Linked DNA regions of Homo sapiens: all the other regions are linked to region 3. The links are contacts of gene promoters, found by promoter capture Hi-C in blood cells and fetal thymus (Javierre and others, 2016). All regions are on one chromosome and are shown on one strand. Each heading gives the region's core, a stretch centred on a gene start or on the middle of the fragment in contact. The rest is flanking DNA. Distances are from core to core; before and after follow the strand shown. Region 1 holds the start of ARSB (arylsulfatase B). Region 2 overlaps RASGRF2 (Ras protein specific guanine nucleotide releasing factor 2). Region 3 holds the start of MTX3 (metaxin 3).

What was found. Contacts are between HindIII fragments. The CHiCAGO score rates a contact against its expected background, and 5 or more counts as called.
Region 1: a contact is called between a fragment that was not itself captured here and the fragment with the promoter of MTX3 in region 3, in 1 of 17 cell types (activated CD4 T cells). The highest score is 6.8, in activated CD4 T cells.
Region 2: a fragment that was not itself captured here is called in contact with the fragment with the promoter of MTX3 in region 3 in 1 of 17 cell types (activated CD4 T cells); the score reaches 7.7 in activated CD4 T cells.

The regions. Positions count from the first base shown.
Region 1 is chr5:78,983,584-78,988,491 of GRCh38, forward strand. It overlaps ARSB (arylsulfatase B), which reads right to left and starts at 1,727. Exons shown (of 8, transcript NM_000046.5): 1 at 1,354-1,727. The coding sequence starts at 1,665. RefSeq lists a silencer at 1,050-1,909. The HindIII fragment of the contact is 1,365 bases long and covers 746-2,110 here.
Region 2 is chr5:81,005,581-81,010,141 of GRCh38, forward strand. The region is part of intron 1 of RASGRF2 (Ras protein specific guanine nucleotide releasing factor 2); the gene reads left to right. Among named protein-coding and RNA genes, the nearest start is that of RASGRF2-AS1, 47 kb to the left of the region's middle. The HindIII fragment of the contact is 2,869 bases long and covers 895-3,763 here.
Region 3 is chr5:79,988,083-79,992,617 of GRCh38, forward strand. It overlaps MTX3 (metaxin 3), which reads right to left and starts at 3,180. Exons shown (of 9, transcript NM_001363818.2): 1 at 3,076-3,180; 2 at 2,512-2,581; 3 at 2,078-2,154; 4 at 1,070-1,162; 5 at 380-562; 6 at 157-233. The coding sequence starts at 3,156. It also overlaps a transcript of THBS4 not described here. RefSeq lists an enhancer at 2,678-2,847. The HindIII fragment of the contact is 4,262 bases long and covers 2,265-4,535 here.

The DNA.
Region 1 (4,908 bases), core at 178-2,677, 1.0 Mb before region 3:
GGGGATTCCTAATTACACGTAGCAGCCAAGGTCAGAACCGCCAAAAGTACTAAGGTGGATGGTGAAGGGAAGCATCCTTTACTCCCATTTCTAACCTTGGCTACAGCTATTTCTCACCCTTAGCAACACCCAATCTTTCCTCTTTATAAAAGCCTTCAGACCACTGCGCATATCTTTATCACAAGTAAGCCCTCCCTTCTCTTGATCTTAGGACCACGTGAGGCTAGGGTTGATCTGACAGGTTATGCGAACACACACTTGGGAGGGCAACATTCAAATATATATCCCCTGTCAGTAGCACAGTAAGCTCAAAATATTTTTGTTGAGTAAACAGCATATGTACTCTGTGAAGGCATGCAGGTGGTATCCAACAGTTCCCATTTACTGTATTTAATATGGTCATAATAACTTCAGGGTCTTAGAAATATGACAATCGTATTCAGATTGAGGGGAAAAAAGGCCAATTTCATAAGCCCGGGACGACCAGTGGATGCAGGAAAAGCACAACGGACACTGCCTTGACCACTTTCTAGCTGTGCGATTCTTATGCCAACGAGCCTTTACAGGCTTCCTGCCTCGTCTGTAAAACGGGGTAAAAACAACTACCTCATGCACTGTTTCAATAATTCACTTTAAAAACAACAAAGTGCTATGCAAATGTTCTTGATATTCTTAGCCATCTAACATCTATGCACGCTCTACATTTATATTTCCTTCGTTAACTGTGGAGCCGTTCCTAAAGGGAAGCTTTTAAAGCGATAATGAAGATGCTCAGAAGAGTTCAATACAAGGTTACATGTGAAAGGAATGTCAGCAGCCTAAGAAAAATCAACCTAGCATCAGGTTTCATTCCAGGGGTGTTGAGAACCTGGAAAAAAATAATCTTTGGTGGGACACTCCTAACCTATCACCGCTGGGTTCCCACGGGCCAGGGTCGCACCCACGGCGAGCACCCCTTCATTTTACCTCTCCCCTCGTCTTTGCTCCCAGCCCACGCCCTCCCCAGCCTCCCACCTCAGGACCGCTCCGCCTGCCGGCCGCGGCGCCCAGCACCCGGCATTCCCATAAACCCCTTCGCCCGGAGCTTCAGAAAACGAAAGACAAAGCCACCCGCCCAACCCGGCGGCCGGGGCGCGGGTCCGCGGGGCGCCAGAGCCGGGCATGCGCAGAGGCCGCGGCGGGCTGCCGGCCTGGAAGAGCGAGGTTGGGGCGAGAAGCCGCCGGGACCCATAACTGGGTCGGCGGTCCGAGCCCCGCCTGCCAGCGCCCGCGGCCTCAAGGGCCGGGTAGGAGCGGCAGGGCGCCGGCGAAAGGCGGGGCGGGGGCGGCGCGGGCGGCGGGGGCGCCGCGTACCTGGTAGCGGCCAGTGAGCAGCTGGCTCCGCGACGGCGTGCACAGCGGCTGCGTGTAGTAGTTGTCCAGGAGCACCCCGCCGGCCGCCAGCGCGTCCAGGTGCGGCGTGCGGATGCGGGAGCCGTGGAAGCCGACGTCGTTCCAGCCTAGGTCGTCTGCCAGCAAGAAGACCAGGTGGGGCGGCCGGCTGGCCCCGGCGCCCGAGCCCGGCGGCGCCAACAACAGCAGCAGCAGCAGCGGGAGGACGACGGGGAGGAGCAGCCGCCGAGGTCCGGGGCCTCGGGGCAAGCTCGCCGCGCCGCGCGGACCCATCCTTGTCCGCCCGCGGTCCCAGCGCCTGTGGCGCCACCAGCCCCTTGTACCGCTGATAGAATGAGGAACTGGGCTGCCGGGGCCTGCTCCGCCCCGGCGCGGGACGGCACCCCCAGCGGGCCGTGGGCTTGCGAGGCCGGGCGCTCGGCCCCCGCCGCCTCCGACCCGGGCCCCCGGCTGCTGTGGCGGAGGAGGAGCCAGAGACGAACCCGCGGGCGCCCGCTGCCCGGCTTCTTGGAAACTCAGCTGACGCTTGGAGGGCACCAAGGCCCGTTATCTTCCCCGGCAATTAAATTTGCACTGTGGTTTCCTAAAAAAAAAAGATGTGTTCTTTAATAACGCTTCACAATTTACAAAGCATCTTCACAGCCCGCGTCTCCTGTAAAGCCTGCAACAACTCTGACAGTTAGACATTATAATTAGTGCCAATTTTTCATAAGAAAAAAGCTTATAAATGGTTAAACCTCTGACTCAGATCCTGAACCATGATGTCTAGCTAGCAAGTCATTTCTAGCACAAGAGCCCAGCCTGTGGCAGGTGGGAGGACGGTGAAAAGGCAGAGGTCTAAATAGCCTTTCACATTCATTTATGCGTAGTGTACACCCATGAAGCCGCTTCCTCCCCACTAGCAAACAGGAGGCCAAACACACAGTCTGATTGCACGGTGCCCTTTGGAAGGTGCGGTTACTTTCAAGTTGCCCTGGGAGGATTTGGAGTGTTGCGTGGTCATTGAATAAATAGCTCATTCGCTTGTCCGGATATGACCCCACTCAGAGCTGGCTCCCCCACTAAGCAGTGACACTAAGAAGCACACAGTATCTAGTTAGCCTGAAATATCTGAGTGGAAGGAAAAAATCCTTTAGTCACGTGCTTATTGAATTAGGAAGTTAGCCGTATGACCAGTAGATTCCCGTTGCCATCCAGACTTTCTGTCTACTCTGTCTGGAGATATTATAGTTGTTAACAGGTGTAGGGGAAAATTTTTGCATTGCCTAGAGACCATACCCTTCCAGGTTGAGTCTGATTCCGTGGAAGTTGTTTACAACTTTATAAGTTATAGATAAATAACAATGGAAAATAATTCTTATTTATATATACACAAATGAACTTTATCCAGCGGAGTAGCAATCCTTCCCCTCCACCACTACCAAGGAAAACAGTTTCACCTCCGCTTGCATATTTATTTTAGTATTCCTGATCTGTTCTTTGGATTGTCCTTTGAATTGGTTTTAACACCTTACCAATTTCCTTATTAATGAGTTAAATAAAATCATGTATTCACTTTTATATTTGTATGAGGGTCATGATTTTACCTTTTTTTCCCCAAGAATCCTTTAACACATGAAATGTTTGCCTCTTACATACACTTTTTTTCTTTGCATGAAGTAGATTAGTTTATGTTGTATGCACTTTAATCTCTAGTGGAATCAATGAAATTTAGCAGAAAAAAGTGAAAATTTTAGCATTAAATTCAAAGAATAACTTTTGAGAGAACTGTTTGACTCATTATGTCAAGGGTTGAACTTTTCATTTAAACACCCTGTAGAAGACCTTGAAGGACTGAGAATTTCCGCTGTGGTTTTGTGTCTTTCTCCCCCGTAATCCTTCCTATTCTCCTTGATAAAAATTAAGAAGAAATAATTGATGGGTGCTAATCTGCAGGAACAATTCCTCCTTTAACCAACTTCCCCTGAAACTAGCTAAACTTGCACAGATTCTTACGTCCTATGTTTTTAAAATAAAAGCATATGTTAATAGTGCTCTGGAAATGTGCAAATTGAAGAGTTAATTCTATTTTCCATCTATGTATTGAACACATAATGTGCAGTACAAGCTAGTTATTTTATAAAATCTCTCAATTGGAGTTTGATGTTTCTTCACAATTAGATAGAGGTTATGGATTTGTGCAGGAATACCACAAAAAGTGATGTGGTATGTTTCTCGGTGCTTCCTATTAAGAGGCACATGATGCTGAATTGCTTTCTTATGGGATAACTTTGTTAAGGTAAACATTTCCTCATTGTAAGGTTAATATTTTCTTCTTGTAATTAATAAATATTTTATGGAGAGATAATTTGAGAATATGTAAATATCCTATTATGCCTCACACACATTATTTTGCTTACCAGTTTTAGTATCTTGCTTCTTGCTTCAATTAGTTATAATTAGGATGGCTACCAAATGCTGATTTTCTAATTCCTTCATTTCCTCTATATTTATGAGTTGCCTTTCTACTGTAAGGAAGAACTTTCCCTTCTCATTTATTTATTTCACTATGAATTCATGAATTCTTGTTTTAATCAATATGCTATAATCCTTTGCTATAGTTATTTCAATGCTCAAATTTTCTCTGTTTTGGCCAGTGGGAGCCCCTACAATCTGGCTCATATCCTTTTGGCATGTCCTCTTGAATCTTTGAGCATGTCCACACATTTTGATACAATGAGATTTTCTAGCCTCAACTTGCACTTTTCCTCTCCCAATCCTGGAATCAGACATTTCTCCAAGCAACACTGATTCTTTTTTTTTTAGACGGAGTCTCATCCTGTCGCCCAGGCTGGAGTGGAGTGGCGCGATCTCAGCTCACTACAATCTCGGCCTCCAGGGTTCAAGAGATTCTTTTGCCTCAGCCTCCCGAGTAGCTGGGACTACAGGCACATGCCACCTTGCCCGGCTAATTTTTGTATTTTTAGTAGAGACAGGGTTTCACCATGTTGGCAAGGATGCCCTCGAGCTCCTGACCTCAGGTGATCCACCCCCATCGGCCTTCCATAGTGCTGGGATTACAGGTGTAAGCCACCACGCCTGGCCAGAACGCTTATTCTTTTTAGGGATGACATTGAGAAACCAATCTCTGTGTTTTAGATGTGCTCATTGCTACTGGGCTGTCATCACTTCTGGGATCTCTCTCAAGACAAAGACAGGAACTATATATATATATATATATACACACACACTCACACATACATATATAAGTGTTTATACATACACCACACCCACATACTATATCTAAACATATGTATAAAACCATGAGTTTATAATGAGTACCTCTAATTCTATTTCCCCTCGTTTCTATATGTGTATGGGTTGTACCAGTTTTCATCACTAGCAACTGAGTAGTATAGTGAAAACAGTTTGGCAATTTCTTACAAAACTAGACCTATTCTTAGCCTACAATCCAGCAGTCACACTCCTTGGTATCTATCTGAAGGAGGTGAAAACTTATATCCACACAAGAACCTG
Region 2 (4,561 bases), core at 1,079-3,578, 1.0 Mb after region 3:
TCATGGAGAAAAAAAATCCCATTGTATGGATATACCACATTTTGTTTATCCATTCCTCAGCTGATGGACTTTTGGGTAGTTTCTGCTATTTGACTTCTATGAATAGTGCTGCTGTGAACATTCGTGTAGACATTTTTGAGTAGACATATATTTTATTTCTTTTGGGTACATACTGAAGAGTGGAGAGACATATTTTGCAGTACTTTTTTTCCTTTCTATCTGGAAGATTGAAGGGGAGTATTCCTTGGTGAGGTGGGCTCTGTCTGTGATAGAGAGGGCATTAAGTCAGAGGTAGGAATTGCTGATTAGAGTTCCAGGTCAGCGCCTGACTGGCCATGTGTTTGGAAGTTCACTCTGTTTCCTCAGCTGTAGAATGAAGTAGTTTTATCGGACAATCTTTAAGGTCGCTTCCAAGTTCAAATGTTCCAAGTTCAAACGTTTTCCTGAGTGAGATTGAAAGGCTTTCAAGATATGAAGGGAAATATTTCAAACAACTTGGACTTTAATATTTATTTATTTAATTAAGTTTTGTGTTTTTAATAAAAATAAATCTTTAAAAATTGTATGGCTATAGAACCAACCTTACTCAAATTTGTATTACCCAAGGACATCTACTTTAATATTTCGGTGTATTTCCTGTCGAATTTGCCCCTTTAGGTTGTTTAGTTGTTTATTGGGCTGTAGTCATGCTCAATGCACAGTTTTCTATGGGGATCCTGTTTTGATTGCCCTTCAGACTGGTCTTGATTTCACTTAATATGCTTCTAACTTTGGTTGAAGGACCTTTGAAAGTGAAAAGTCTTTTGAGTTAAGTGGTTTTGGTAAAGCCATGATAGTTTTGAAAGTGCAAAGGTGTTTCTGAAAGTATGTTACCTTCTAGAATAGTCAGTAGAAAGCTTCATATGTAGTAGGCAGAGATAAGGCTGTAAGTGTGTCAGAATCTAATAGTTCCATACCCCAGAGCAGCTAACCCACTTCTTCCTCCTGTGTTTTGGTGATTTAGAAGCCATCAAAATGCTTATTCCCTTTGCTGGGGTTCAGAAGCTGATGCCCCGAACTATGGTGCTTTGACATGCTGAACCGAGGAAGGAGCCTTGAGACCTCTCGGATCCCCCTTTCCCCACTTCTCCGTCTGCCCCAAAGCACAGGATAAAATTGTTCTCTGAAGTTCCCTTATCTGCCTAAAGTCCAGACCTGCTGAAGAAGAAAACAATTACTTCTGGTCACTTTCCTGAGTTTTCATTAACTGAACACATGTCTCAGAAAGAAAGATTCCAAGTCCATCAACACACTTTTATAGACTTGTCACAAACCATTGTCTGTTCTGCGGGCCCACGAGACATTGTCCCAGGCCATTGTATGTTCCTCGAGTCCATGGCATTCTCCTAAAAATGGTTTACTAACCCCCTAAAATAAGCCTCACTTCCCCATCTCCCTTTCTCCTCAGAAGGGTATATAACCATTAACCATCTGTACCTCATTGCGTGGTGGAGTAATCACTGTGTGATCCGCCTGCCTCCGTACACATTTATAAATGTGTATATGCCTCTTCTCCTGTTAACCTTCCTTTTGTTAGATGTGGCTTCTCATTCGGGAGGGGGTGTAGCTTTCAGGAAACCTGCAGAAGGTGAAGGGGAGGAGTTTTCCCTTGGCCTCTACACTTTCATAATGCTCAAAAAGTTTCTGATTGTGGTTTCAAATTATTTCCTGTGTTGGAGGAAGGTTGAACTTGTTTTTCTTTTTGCCTACTTTCTGGTTTTCAAGCTCAGCAACTTCATTAACTTTTCTAGCTCCTGAGAGACCACTCTGTGCAGTGAAGCAGGCTCTTCTGCCCTGAGGAAGGGGTTCATTCTTTCCCAGGGACCCTCTCCCTGGAGCTGCCTTGAGGCCAGAACACCTCCACACTGGCACCAAGTGTTTAGAGAGCCCTATTGTCAGCTGCCCCGGGATGTCATTTTTTCCTTCATGGTGAGGGTTAGTTGGCCATATACTCCCTCGCTTTCTTTTTTCCATTAAGAAAAATTCACGCCAACAAACTCAACTTTCTCAGGGTGGTCCTTGCATTTATGGTAAATATTGAAGGCTGATTTAGGACGAGGAAAGTGAACTATTCAGATCAGCTGCCCCTCCACGATAACTGCTTGACTTGCTCACCTAATCGCAGGTGCAACTGAGACAGAAGGATAACCATGTATTGTTCTTCAAAGGAGTGACCTCATCCATGGAGGAGTCACCTAGTAAATGCAAAATGCTGAGCAAGCAGATCCGATGCAGCTTCTCATTTGGGAGGGGGTGAACTGAAGAGAGAGACGTGAACAGGAAAAGCAATGGAAGCATCCTCATCCCTTGGCCATGGCAGTTATGGAAGGGTTCCAATACCCTCAGCTTCCCAGGACCATCCAGCAATAGTATTTATTGTCTTCATCTATGGTAAACACTTTCTGATAGGCCAAAATTGCACTGTCTCGTCTGATTTACAGAACCAGCTATCTCAAATGTGTAGTAATTGGAAAAAGTGGATGATGATGGTTTCAGTTTTCTTTTTCTTTCTTTCTTTCCTTTTTTTTTTTTTTTTTTTTTTTTTTTTTGAGACAGAGTCTCGCTTCTTCGCCCAGGCTGGAGTGCAGTGGCACAATCTCGGCTCACTGCAACCTCCTCCTCCCGGGTTCAAGCAATTCTCCTGCCTCAGCCTCCCCAGTAGCTGGGATTACAGGCATGTGTCACCACGCCCGGCTAATTTTTGTATTTTTAATAGAGACGAGGTTTCACCCTGTTGGTCAGGCTGGTCTCAAACTCGTGACCTCCAGTGATCCACCTGCTTCAGCCTCCCAAAGTGCTGGGATTACAGGCATGAGCCACCGTGCCTGGCTGGTTTCAGTTTTCATACAGCTTATTTTAGCACTTTGACACATCTTGCACTGTTACTTAATCTTATAATGTTATTTAATTGCTTTATGAGTGCCTAATTTAGCTTTTCAGCTAAACTGTAATCTTCTTAAGATCAGTATATGTGTGTCTATAAAATACATACCAGCATGACACTTTCAAAAATAAGATGGTTGATAAAATAATGGATAAAATGGATTCCTCCCCTCTTCCTTCTCTTCTTCCCTCCCTCCTTCCTCTCCCTTTTGTAGCACCTCCTGTCTCTTAGGCTGCTGATTTAATATTAGAAATGAGAACAGAAATGGCTAGGGTGGCATCTAGAACCATTATAAAATTCAAGGGCAGAATAGAATTTTGTAGACTTGATGATTTTTTGGAAATTTATTTTCTGGACATACTTCTTATCTATACAGGCTCCAGCCCATCTATTTCTTCCTTTCCGTGTGATCCATCCTTTTGTGGTTGATTGTCTCAGCAAGTAGAACTTCAAGTCAGAGTCCTGGGTTTTGGACTCATGATCTGGTTGGCTTTGCCACATAGATAGCTTTCACAACAGAGACTCACAACAGAGTGTGGCAGACCAGTGGGAGTCCACTACTACCCCTGGGCCTGCAGCTGAGAGCACATGCCCTGATGGGTTGTGGGTGATTGTCCTGCCTCTTTCAGCCTGTTTCCTCATCTGTAAAAGGGGAATAAATTATGGGCTCATGACGAGAACTCGATGAGAAAATGCAGGATGGATCTCAGAACAATGCCTGCCATATATTAAGCACTGAGTGGATATGTAACCATTTTCATGCCTAGATAGGCAGTTAATGAATATCATCATATACTGCCCAGGTTAGTGAACTTCCCTTATACCCTGAGAGCAGATGTAAGCTTCTAGAGGGTAGGAGCCATCAACTGCCTAGAATGTCCAGATATAGCATCACATATGGGGCCACTCAGTCGCTAAAATTGTGATGTGAGTGTTGTTCAGTAGCTTATTATCATGTCTGTCAGATGGAGCATCACATCAGACTTGGCAAACATGAGGAGCAAATATCCCTAAAGCAAGTCTAAAAACAAACTTCCATAAACCAAGTTATTCATGTCTTTCATCTGTTCTTGAGAATCTCCACCAATGGAGTAACCCAAAAGTCAAATAAAAAATTGTATATACCAAGATTTATAAGGAATAATTAAAAACCTTCCAAATGTTAAAATAGGCAAATGTAATTTAAGTAAATATTTAAGTAGTATATCATTTCTGTGTAACATTATGTACACTTTATAAACGTTTACTACAGTTTTAAGTAATATGGAAAAATTCTTAAGTTATCATGTGACCTGAAAACTATGCTGGAATAGCATTGCATATGCAGCATGAGCATGACTGTATTAAAATGGTTTTAGAAAATAGATTGGAGAGGCCGGGTGCGGTGGCTCACACCTGTAATCCCAGCACTTTGGGAGGCAGAGGCGGGCGGATCACAAGGTCAGGAGTTCGAGAGCAGCCTGGCCAATATGGTGAAACCTCGTTTCTATGAAAATGCAAAAATTAGCCGGGCATGGGGTTGGGTGCCTGTAGTTCCAGCTACTCGGGAAGCTGAGGCAGGAGAATTGCTTGAATCCTGGAGGTAGGTTGCAGTGAGCTGAGATCGTGCCACTGTACTCCAGCCTGAGTGACAGAGTG
Region 3 (4,535 bases), core at 1,930-4,429:
CTGTGATTACAGGTATGAGCCACCACACCGGCCTAAATCTTGTTTTTTTTAAGTAAAAAACTCATCTTTTGGGGAGATAAGAGGACTTGCTTTAAATAGCTGCTCACTGAATATATGTGCACAAAATACCAAAATGATTTTTAAGGGAATACTCACGTATCTCCAAAGAAAAACTGAGATGTTCCCAATCTGTTTGATAGAAGATTTAGGCACTCCTTGGCATCTCTGTATATCTAATAAGGATGAAATTATATCTCAAAAGTAGAAAAGATACTCTAAAACTACTTTTGAGGAAGGCATCTCTAGGTAAACTCAAGTCTGCATTTTATCTTGTCCTTTCTCTCTAGGGCCCTTGCTTGAAGAATAATCCATACTATACCTGTGCTTCCACTTCTCGGAGGTGGTAGAGGGGAGGCTGTCCTCTGGTCAGGAGAATCCTATTCAGTGCTCCCTTAGACATTCTTCCAGGCAGGATCAAACTCAAAGGAAAAGGAATTTGTGAAGCAAACCATGGCTTTGTCACAGTAAAGTAATTGTCACTCTCAACCCAGAATGTGTGAAGCTGCAAAAGAAGAGAAAAAACACTACAAGGATGTTCTTTTATTAAATGAAAGATCACTCAATCAACATGAGAGTTTTTCATAAATATCTTTATATGAAGTGTCTTCATACAAATTTTCCAGTTAGAATGACTCAGGATAAAACAAGATTATTTTAAATGTGTGAGTTTTGTTGACTGCTATCTTCCAAACACCCAGAACAAGGCCTGACACATAGCAGGTGTTCAATAAACATTTGTTGAATGAATGAATTACACCCAATTCTATACATGGAGCAAAAAGATCCATCTCCCACAAAGAATTTCCAACATGACATTTTATTTTACTTTGTTGTTTCACATACTAGTTGAATGCCTAACAGAATCCAGTTTCACAGTAATATGAAGGAATTAAGATTAACATATAAGTAAAATTTTCTCTTAAGACTTTTCTCATTGGTTTTTTTCTAAACAGACTATGTACATTTGCAACTAGGCTACTAAAATACTGTAATATTTAAGAACACTCACCACTGCAGGGAGAAGCTTCTCTTCGAGGAGAGCAATATAAGCCAATGTATCTGCCCCTTGTTTTGCTGAGAGTTCATAATCAGCATTATATTTCTATTAAAAAAAAATAAACCAAAGAAACTCAGAAGTCAAAGAGCAGCCCAAAGACAGTAAAACTAATCAAATCAGGATTCATATTTTTCCTTACAAATAGCAAACGTGGTATTAAAATGGGAGAAAGAGAAATACAAATCCAGTGAAACCTATTGCTTAATGCACATAAAGTTCTTAGCACAGCATCACATACACAATATGGTCAATAAATGTTACAATATTAACTACTATTATTTTCATGCTTGTTAATGACCTAGTTCAGTGCATGGCATGTAGTACAAACAAAGCAACTATTATTTTTAACAAGAAGGAAACAGTTCCAATTGGCTGTGTTTCTCCCCAAGACAAAAGAAAAAACCTTCCAATTTATAAAAGTTCAAAATGTTATTGACACAATTTTTTTAAGTACAGTATTGGCAAAACAAATAACTTATCCATTCATATAAATCTTTACATGTTTAAACATTTTGGATACATAATTCTCTACTGTTAAAACATTTAGATACATTATTCCATAAAACTGCTATTAAGAGCTTTTTAAAAATAATATAGTTGCTAGTTGGTGAGAGCTCAGGTGTCATGCCCAGCACAAAATGTGTACCAACTATGTGACAAAATACACAATCCTATCAATAAGTTTAATAGTGAAAATGGCTAATTAAATCTACTTACATACAAATTTCAATAAAATTCAAGCAAAGTTTATTAAAATATAAACTGACTACCTCTTCATATGACTTTCAAATCACAGAACTCATGCTTTAGAGCAGTGATTCTCAAATCTATTTTTACATCTTGTCCCAGGTATCTCCAATTGTCTAATGAGTTGGCAAAAAAAAATAAATAAATAAAATAAAGCCCAACATGCAGGGATCAACAATCTACCAATCTACTTCTTCAAAGTGAACCACCCACCTGTTTTCTTAAAAAGTTTAGTATTTTTGCTGGCTGAGAAACCATGTCGTCTTCAGTTGTCAAAATTGGTACATCGCCTATAATCAAAAAACAGTTTACATACAAGGACACAGTGTGATTTCCTCTGAGAGATTCCAATATCCTAAAAACTATAGCAGTTGCACATTTAGAGGGGAAAAAATGAGTAAGCTTGTCTTGGTTTTTTTGCTGTTTCACAAAGAGCGGTTCTAAAGAACATTTTCGTTTCTCATAATTTCCAGTGATTTCGCTTGCACTTTGAGGTATTACTCAGAATGATCAAACCATAAACAACACAGAGCCAAGGTCACGGTAAGAAACTAAATCCTCAATATTATAGCTATATACCTCACAGCTTTAAATGGAAGAAGAAAAAAAAGAGTGCAGAAAGGGGAGTGTAAAGGTTTACACTATACCTCTTGAACCTCTCCAGGTGTTATCTATCACATTGACTTTCAAGGGTGCACCAGAAAATTTGGCATAAGCCTGAAACAGAGTTTGCAATCAAACATTTTAGACCAAGTGCGTAATGCAAAGCTGCAGAGCAGCTTTACTTCACAGCCCCATCCCCCAAAGGCAGAAGGCGACTGATACTGAGGCCGCATCCCTCCCCGTGATCTCAAGTAGGGACGCGGGCGCCAGCCACCCGGCTTTCGAGGACTTTGCTCCCCAAAAGGTCCTGGGGATGCAGAGTAGGGAGGGCGCGCCCCTTGCTTCGGGGTTTCACTCCACCGCCCAGACAGCTTTGTGAGGCGGACAAAACTCGGAGCCAAGCGGAGAAGCCTTGATGTCGCCGCCGGCCTTCGGCGGGGGTATCGGCCAGGTTGGGACTCGTCGGTGGGAGGGAGCCCAGGGCAATGCAGCGTGCAGCGGCTCGGCCCTCCTGGACCCCGCAGCGCAGCGGGAAACTGGGGCAAGTCAGCCTGGCGCCTCCAGCCCCGCCCCTTCCTCCTGCGCCCTGGCCCGCGAGGCGGCCTCACCATCACCACCAGGGACTCGCTGTGAACCGATGGGAGTCCCCAGCCGCCTCCCCAGCAACTGAGTTCCAAGGGGGCCGCCATCTTGCGCGGGCCGACCTTTACTATCCCGGAAGTACTTTTCCTCCTAATTTCCGGCACGTGAAACGCGGGGGCGTGGCTAAGGGAGGGAAGGGTAATTTGGGGGCTCTTGAGAGATGAGAGAAACAACGACTGGAGGGATTAAGAAGAACTCTTAGGAGCAGCTTGGCCTAAAGGGTAAGAGTTGTGTGCCTTAAGTCAGACCCACCAGTAATTCTTCAAATATTAATATTTATTAGATCCCTAGAGTGTTCCAAACCCTTTGAACATTAAATCTGTGTGATGCCTAAATTAACCTGTTTGTAAAACAGGGATGACCCAGTATTTACAAGATTGTGGTATTTACAATGTCGGAGAGAAAGAACTTGGCACACAGGAGGCACTCAGTAATTGTTCAACCCCTTCTCCCATGTATGTGGCCTCTGCCTGCCTTTCCAGCCTCAACCTGTTCTCACCCTCATGTTCACTGGCACAACCCTGCTTAAAAGTTACAGTATTTCTGAACGTCAGGTAAATTGTGCCCACCTTCAGTGCTGGTCCTTCAATCTGGAATATCTTTCTTCCCTATGCAGCTGCTCCCTCAAAAATGAGCTTAACTCACCTTCCCTGTGATGTTTTTACAAAGTTAGGAGCTCTGGGTTCTTGTAGCCCCTTGTGCATATTTGAATTGTAGCTTCTCTCCCTAGCTACAGACCTTTTGCCTTTCACAGAAGAGGGCTAGCTTCATAGGTTTGGGACCTGTGCAGCCACACAAGGCTCTGTGCTTAAAAAGGCTCCTCATTTGGCTGATGCTCTTCCGTCACTGTCTTGAAATTCTTAAGTTTTGAACAAGGGGCTCTGCATTTTTATTTTGGACTGGGCCCCTCAAATCATGTAGCTCGTCATGTCTGTGGGCCTAATGAGCACAGACTAAATGTTTCTTGACGTTAAACCTGACAGTTTCTCAGAAAAACTATTAAAGAGGAAATTTTGGTCTTGGAAATGCTATGATCCAAACATATGACTGGGTCTCAGAGTTAGAACTTGGGTGCTGGGTCTTTTTTCTAGAAGGCACAGTAGTCTTTCTGGGACACCCTCGCAGTCATGCCTCTGAGTTCTTTCCTCTATTCCACTGAGATGGTCGGATCTTCTTAACTAAAACTCAAAAGAAACCTCTGCAACTTTTCGTAAAATTACTATTCAACAAATATTTGCTAGGCACTCCCTTACTGTTTACATAATCATTCAAATTACAGTGCCAGCCTGCTAAAGTCTTTTTTACATGTTTCAAAACCAAGAGTTCTAAGAAATGAAAAAGAGATATGTCAGAAATGAGAATTCATTAATAATAACTGTATAATTGGAAAATGCATAACATATGTACCATTAAAACTGTCGAAACA